2 separate regions of the Homo sapiens genome follow, and region 2 is linked to region 1. Evidence: promoter capture Hi-C in human tissues and cell types (Jung and others, 2019). All regions are on one chromosome and are shown on one strand. Each heading gives the region's core, a stretch centred on a gene start or on the middle of the fragment in contact. The rest is flanking DNA. Distances are from core to core; before and after follow the strand shown.

Region 1 (4,185 bases), core at 681-3,180:
GCATAGTAAAACCCCATTAAAAAGTAGTTGCTACACCATTATGAATGAGATACATTTTTATCAATATCTTATAAAGCAAATAGATGTTGAATCCTGCCATATGCTTATGTATTAAAATACTAGAAGACCATATGATAAAGTAAGTCCCAAATCATAAACACAATACAAAATCCCCATGAGTTTTTTTTTGCCAGTCCAAAGCCATTGTGAATAGGCATAGGATGAAGCACAATGTTGGAAGATGATGAAGAATCACGATACAAAGCTTTAAAGATTGAGGTCAGAATCTAGCTTAGTAACTCAGAAACAATTAATTGCACAGTGCAGGTATATTATATTTTTGTTACCTGCATTGTTACTGCATTTCTCATCAGATGAAAGTAGGCAGAATCATTTAAATGTAGTCCAATTTAGAGCCCAGTATGAAGGGTGGTGGGGATGAAGGTACCATGGTTTTTGAGAGAGGAAAGGCCCAAATGTGCATTAACAATCATGAAGAAAGGGACTGGTTCAAGCAGGAGCCTTTATCCAGGAGTTCAAGGACAGATGGGAATTGGATTTTGTCTGGTGGACTTGATTGGCAAGGGTCGAAGAAGGCTGCTTAGCTGAGAAAACAGCACATGGCCTAATTATATCCACAACACAGGGATTTTTCAGTCCTCTCTTTAAAAATGAACTCTTCCTTGCATCTATGAAGCAATGTGAATCCTATCATTAACACTTCCTTCTTTGTTGCTGACAAAAATTAACTCCTAAACCCACCAACAGAGCTTGAAATGTCACAGTTCCCTTTAGAGTGACACAGACCTCTTCCTCCTCCTGGCAAAATCTTCTGCATGAATGAAGGTGGAGAGAGCCTTAGTGAGGTGACTATCTGATGTCTCAGTGCTACTCCCAAAGTCATAGTTTTTCAGGCAAGGGCACAAGCAGTGGACAATGGCCCGGCGGATGTAGCTGTCGAAGATATAGTAAATGAAAGGGTTGACACAGCTGTTGGCAAATGCCAAGGGTCCACTCACCTCCATACCAAGCTGAAGAATAGCTGAGGGTAAATAGTGTTCTTGCCGCAACCCAGAGACAATGGCCAGGAACTTGAAAGTATTGAAGGGCAGCCAGGAGACAAGAAAGGCTGCCACGACAATAAAGATGATCTTTATAGATTTCTTCAGCTTTTTGTTGTGCTTTCCTGATTGCTGGTAATGGGCACACAGCTTCCTTGCAATGCAACAGTAGCAGGTCACAATGCTCAACAAAGGGACAAAAAAGGTGAAAATTAAGGCCACCAGGGACCATATGAGTTTAATTGGAGTTGCCTTTTTCTCTGCACAGTATGGCTTATCATCAATCAGCGTGAGCTCCCTGGACAGAAGAGTAGGCAACCCCAGCAGGCAGGAGATAAACCAGATGCTGGCACAGACTACATATGCACAGTCTGTCCTTCTGAATTTCCTGGATACGACTGGCCACACAATGGCCAGGTAGCGGTCAACACTCATGCAAGTGAGCAGGAGGACACTGCAGTGCATATTGACGGAGATCATGTAGGAGCTCCCTTTGCACAGGAAGGAGCCCGTCCTCCACAGTCCTAGAGATGCTTCTTTATCCACCCAGAGAGGCAATGTGACAAGAAAAATGAAGTCAGAGGCAGCCAGATTGATGATAAAGATGTCGATCAGTCTTCGGCTGCCGGGTTTGAAATGCAACGCTCCCATGAGAACAAGGTTCCCCAGCACTCCAGTCAGGAACACAGCTGTGTAAAAGACTGGAAGGAAGACAGAGGTGTAAGGAACATGGGAGTGGGTCTCCCTGATGTCAGAGTTTGGGCTCGTAGCATAGTAATAATCCAAATAAACTGAAGTTTCTTCTGGGTCCATCACCAAAGAGCAGATGCCAAATCTGGTGAGTTTACTTACATATGATGTTTTTGTATAAATTTTAGAAACCTCAAGGAAGCTTCTTTTATACAGTGCCTGCCTCTCTCTCTCTTTTTTCCCCTCCCTTTAAAGATCTTGGACAAACATGAAAGCCGAGATTAAAAAATGCAGTTTCTACCAATCCTCAGAAAGGGCACACAAGGAGCACCACTCTGATTGGTGTTGGTTGGTTGTGGTTGTGGTTTTTTTAATTTGCATTTGCTCGTGAAACTGAGGTGCTTTTTGAGTTATTTTTTCAAGATATTCAATTTATTTCTTTAAGGCCAGTAATTAAGAAGTGAATTAACTTGATTTTTTCACTTCCTTTAAAGACCTCCTTTGCTTTTGACACTGAAATTTATTTTGATCTAGCCTTCTGTTTCACATAGAAGATATTGTTCTGCTTTTAGAATTGTAAGGCAATGATAATGTATTCTTTTTATTTACTTTGTTGGCGAACTAGGAAGAAAACTAGTCTTTCATTGTGTAAAGAGTGAATGAAAAGTTTCCCAAATCATACCAGTATACAACTAGGTCAAACAACATGATTCCATTTAGGGCATGAGAGTCTCCCCATCTATGTGGCTCTTTCATTTGACATGTAGTCAATCCTGTTTCATAAGTTTTTAAAAATCCCCCCCCAAAGACTGGGACCACGTTTTCTGCTCTTATTATTTTAAGTTTTCCACTACAACTTGCATAGCATCTTGCATATAGTTGGTGCTTTGGAAATTGTAGTTTATTAGGTTTGATTCAGAAAATTCTTTTTGTTATCCAGCATATCTAGTAGAAATGAATTCATTGGGGTCTAACTTCAGGTATTGTTGTTATTTATGTAACTTACAAACACAGGTTTAACAATCTCAAGTTGCTATTTTTACCCTCCTATCTGCTATTGTAATTCAACCAGTGAAGTTCTCTTTTGTTAAGAGTTAACATCATTGATTAGGAGATTTTCTCCCTATTAACCCTCAAATACGCTTCATCAGACTCTGGATCCCCTCTGATCTTCTCTTCATTATACCACACCTGTGTAGCACTGATTTTTTTAGCTTCTGAGCCATGGCCTTCTGGTACCTCCACACATGGGTGAACATCACTTTTGGAATTGCTGATTGCTGATCTGGCAACAGATATACCTATAAGTGACATCATGATGGAGGTGCCAGCATGGACACTATAAAAGGGAAGATTTTTTAGTACATTTAAAACACTTGGGGAACAGGCTAAAACAGAAAGAATTCTATCACATTTTTCTCTCATATGTTTCCTTTTATATTATGATGACCATAGTAAAATATAACACATTTTGAAACGGACTCCATTTATTTCAGCTCTTTACTGGTCAAAGTGACTCAAGGCTCTCTTGCACTATTCTTCTCTCCTATCTGATTTAATCTTCAGAATTCTAGTTTCAGGTTGATATTGCTATTCATAGAAAAATGTATGTTTGTAGATGAAAATATAGTCATTAAACATTTGAAGTCCTTTCTTAAGTTGTTTTTTCATTTGTTTGTTTGTTTAATTTTTGAGACAGGGTCTCACTAGGGTCTCACTTTGTCACCCAGGCTGGAGTGCAGTGTCTTGAACACAGCTCACTGCCAGGCCCATGCAATCCTCCCACCCCAGCCTCCTGACTAGCTAAGACTACAGGCATGCACCACCATGCCCGACTAATTTTTGTATTCTTTGTAGAGACGGGTTTTCGCCATGTTGCCCAGGCTGGTCAGGAACCCCTGAGCTCGAGCAATCTATCCGCCTTGGCTTCCCAGAATGCTGGGATTACAGGCATGGGCCACCAAGCCTGGCCCTACTGAATTGTTATTTCTTCAGTAATTAGTATATTAAAAAGAATCATCCTGCCGGTTGTACTTCCTCCTTCCCTCTTCCTCCTGATATGGTCTAGTGTCACCTGAGTCTTAGGCAAGTAAGCTGAGGTCAGGGAAGGATAAAGGCTCCTCTGACCTGGGACAGTCCCAGAAGTCACTCTGGAGTTGATTTGTGGGCCTGAGCCTGCCTTCTCCTGTGTCCCTGGCTGCTGTGCGCAATTCATTTAATTTCATGGAGGGCATATTCTTTACTAAATATAGACTACAGATCAGAGAAACTAATTAACCGCTTTGACATTTCTGGGACAGAAATCTTTCCCACTGGGTAAGCTTTAATTATTTAATAGAATAATTCATTTTGTCAAAAATTGAAGTAGGACAATATTTACTCAAAAAAGATTAATAGGGTAATATAGAATATTTAAACATATCATCTATATCTG
Region 2 (4,185 bases), core at 1,040-3,539, 270 kb before region 1:
TAGATTTTTGTACATATTGCCCAAAAATGCCAATCAGTGAGATAGCATCAGTTTATATTTCCATTAAAAAATAACTGTTTCCTGGTAGCCTGTTCATCAATTAGTTGTTGTTTTAAATATTTGCCACTTTGATTAGCAAAAGTAGTATTTTGTTGTTTTAACTTTTTTTGTGTTGGTTGTTTAACTTGTATTTCTTTGATTACTAGTGAAGTTAACATATTTAATGGTTACTTGTATTTTTTAATGTATTACTAGTTAATCTCTGCTGATTTTTCTCTTAAATGTTTGGATTTGGCTTGTAATGCCCTACAATATAATAATTATTTAAAGTAACTCTTCTCATATGTAGAAAATATATTTTCCCAATTTTTCATTTGTCTTTCAATTTTATTTTAGTGATTTAAAAATTTAGGAAAATTTCACATCTCTACACAGATGGAATGAATAGTGTAACAAGCTTTTGTGTATCTGCAAAAGCTTCTACAGTTACCACCACATGCCCAGTCTTGACAAATAATGTTTATGGTATTTCCGTGAGGTAGAAAAATGTTGAAAGATGATGTGGTTAATTTTCCCTAGTGATTTCTGCCTTTGGTGTTAATATGGCTTTTGTTTGTCTGTTTTTGTCTTTGTAACTTCAGATGTAGCGCTGGCTGCAGTTCTTGTCCCTGTGCTGGTCATGGTCCTCACTACTCTCATTCTCATATTAGTGTGTGCTTGGCACTGGAGAAACAGGTTAGTACATAACTAGTTCACCTGAGTCCAAAACTACCAAATGTGAAGTAGAAGCTAAATATAGAAGATGAAAATGTTTACCTGTTTGAGAGTGAGAGTTAAGGTAATTATTAAAATGAAAATTTCATGCTTCTCCTTTATTCCCATTAAAAATAAATAAGTTCAATTCCACAATCAGTTACTAAGTACCTTTTTTGTATCAAGTTCTGCATTATACACTGGGATATGTACATTAATATGAACAATTTCTGACACATGATAGTTACATTTACTTAAAGAATGAGACACAATTCCTTTCTCTGAAGTGTTTAGCAGGGTTGACTAACAAGGAACTATATCATGTGGTTTGATGAGTTATGAACCATGAGAATTAACTGAAGTTTTTTCTTCGGGAAAGGGGACTCCTCAAGTTTGGCTTGCTTTGCCTTAAAGGAATTGTAGTTGGCTAGATAGAGGAAGGTAGATGTCTTTGTTTGGGATGCTGTAAGAAAATACCATAACCTGGGTGACATAAATAATAGAATTGATTTCTCACAGTTCTGGAGGCTGAGAAGTCCAAGATCAAAACACTGCAGATACTATGACTAGTGAGGGCCTGCCGTCTGGCTCATTCATCAACAGTGCCTTCTTGCCCGATCCTCTCATGGTGGAAGGGATAAACACGCTCTCTCAGGCCTTTCCTGTAAGGGCACCAATCCCATTCATGAGGACTCTGCCTTCATGACCTAATCACTTACCAAAGCCCCACTTTCTAACGGGGGTTAGGATTTCAACATATGAATTTTGGAGAGATGCAAATATTCAGACCATAGCACTAGCAAATGGCCCAACCTGAGCCAATTGTTTGAGTGAAGGCACAGAGATATGGAATGTAGGCAAAATAGTGAGTCATCGCATGTACGCTTGGCGTGGGAGAGTCCTGAGAAATAACCATAGAGGTTCAGTCTGGGCCTGGATCAGGAAAGGCTTTTCTGGAAGAGAGAAATTTAGATTTCATTCTATAGATGGAAAGTCACTTGAGTGTCAAGCAAAGAGGTGATATTGTCAGATGATTGTACAAAGATGGTGGCAGTTTTGAAGGGTAGATTGAAGAGGAGAGAGGCTGAGAGACTTAGCAAGATGAGTTAGGAAACCACTGAGGCCAGGCAGGCACATAACACACTGATTCTAGGAAAGGGAGAAGAGATGGAGTGGAGATGTTTCCCAGTAGCATTGACAGGATGTATGACTAGTTGTCTAGTAAGGAAGAAGTGATACAGGAGGAATCTGAGGTTTCTGGCTTGTGCAGTTAGACCAGTAGAGGTGTCATGAGTTGAGATAACACAGCAGGAAGGACAGGTTTGGTGGAGAATGAAAATGACTTCATTTGTTCAGCCATGCAACAAGTATTTGAATATTTGGCTGTTACCCTATGTCAAGTATTGAGCCATGTGCTGGGGATTCCAGTGATGAACCCCAAAGCTTACAGATTAGGAACGGATGCAATGCAAAAAAAACTCCCAGCTGTAACACCAGCCATAGAATATATGCCATGGGAGGAAGCTAGTGGATCCCAGCTTCATGAACAGGCTGTCTAAGCAGAGACACAGCAAATTAGTATGAGAACAATAGGGAAAGGAAAGGACTTTAGGAAATTCCAAAGAGGAGAGAGTATGATGCATTTAAGGAACTTAGCAACAACAGTGATAGTAGTGATGAGGCCCGCAGCAGCAGAAGCTAATTTTTATAGAAAATTGAATGCTAATCTTAGTCACTATTCTACATAATTATTCCAAATACCTGTATTTTCTATTTTCAATTTTATTTTAGTGATTTAAAAATTTAGGAAAGTTTCACATCTCTACACAGATGGAATGCATAGTGTAACAAGCTTTTGTGTATCTGCAAAAGCTTCTGCAGTTACCACCACATGCCCAGTCTTGACAACATGCACCTCTACGCAAATTATTCTAAATACCTGAATTAATTAATTTAATCCTCAAAACAATCTACGAAGCAGGCACTATAATAAGCCCCGTTTTACAGAAGGAGAAAATGAGACACAACATAAATAACTTGCCTAGTTATGGGCAAATAACTTGCCTAGTTTATGGGCATAAATAACCTGCCTAGTTATTGCCTAGTACATGGGCAGAGGGGAGTTTTGGACCAGACTTGAGAGATCGTGCTCTTACCCACTGCTGCTCTGAACACATAATAAATAAAGTATAACTCACTGTTATTAAAGCACAGGGTGTGAGGGGGAGGACTGAGGAGTGCCGCTGTTGAGAGGGCAGAAGTCAGACAGAGCCTGAGGTCAGTTTGGGATGGTGTTGAAAGGACCCTGTGGACATCCAGACTCCTGAGGCAATTCGACCACACACCTGGCGTTAAGGACACGATCTGAGCTGGAGAATTGAAGTTACTGTTAGGAACGTAGTTGAAATCACTGATGAGTGTGGCTTTATGACAAGGAGTAAAGGAGCAGATACCATTAATATGCTGTGGAAAATAGGGAGGATGAGAATGATAATAAAAACAGCTGCAGCTTATTGAATCCAGAGCTCATTCTAAGCACTTTATACGTAATGAATAAGTAACCAGAAGCTTTGTCACTTATGTGTATAAAATCCTTTATAGTACAACCTATGGCTAATATTGATGCCATAAATTTGTTGTCCTAGCAATATAGGGCATCTAACTTCTATTTAGAAAAGATGATTTATTTATTTTTTTATTTCTAAATCATGTGATGATTAGAGCATTTTCAGGGAGAAAGGTGTTTAATCAGTATTTTTTTTTATTTCTTTTCCATTCAAGTGTTTCATTAACATCTTCAACACTCATTATCTTTTCCACAAATTTTTTATTATGCTGTACTTTGAAATAATGAAATAAGTATACCTACGCTTTAAAATGAGGATGCATTTAGTATCAAAAATATAGTCTTATACTGGAGAATGTTTCCCAGTAGGAAAAGCACATGGCTTGGGCTTTTTATGAAAACCACATTTGTGGTGCTCACTTCGGCAGCACATATACTAACATTGGAACGACACAGAGAAGATTAGCATGGCCCCTGTGCAAGGATGACACGCAAATTCATGAAGCGTTCCATATTTTTAATTGACCACATAGTTGAAAGTAAAGCACTCATCAGCAAATGTAACAGAAAAGAAATTATAACAAACTGTCTCTCAGACCACAGTTCAATCAAACAAGAACTCAGGATTAAGAAACTCACTCAAAACCACTCAACTACATGGAAACTGAACAACCTGCTCCTGAATGACTACTGGGTACATAATGAAATGAAGGCAGAAATAAAGATTTTCTTTGAAACCAATGAGAGCAAAGACACAACATACCAGAATCTCTGGGACACATTCAAAGCAGTGTGTAGAGGGAAATTTATAGCACTAAATGCCCACAAGAGAAAGCAGGAAAGTTCTAAAATTGACACCCTAACAT

Evidence for each region. The method cuts DNA at HindIII sites, captures the fragments that hold promoters and counts their contacts. A contact is called where the count stands out against the background at its distance.
Region 2: a fragment that was not itself captured here is called in contact with the fragment with the promoter of GPR15 in region 1 in 1 of the 25 tissues and cell types used here (lymphoblastoid cells).

Annotation. Positions count from the first base shown.
Region 1 is chr3:98,529,723-98,533,907 of GRCh38, reverse strand. GPR15 (G protein-coupled receptor 15) reads right to left here and starts at 1,930. Exons shown (of 1, transcript NM_005290.4): 1 at 1-1,930. The coding sequence starts at 1,874. The coding sequence ends at 792. RefSeq lists a silencer at 1,910-2,069. The HindIII fragment of the contact is 5,385 bases long and covers 1,110-4,185 here.
Region 2 is chr3:98,804,631-98,808,815 of GRCh38, reverse strand. It overlaps DCBLD2 (discoidin, CUB and LCCL domain containing 2), which reads left to right. Exons shown (of 16, transcript NM_080927.4): 13 at 642-735. It also overlaps the pseudogene RNU6-26P. Among named protein-coding and RNA genes, the nearest start is that of ST3GAL6, 43 kb to the right of the region's middle. The HindIII fragment of the contact is 3,643 bases long and covers 468-4,110 here.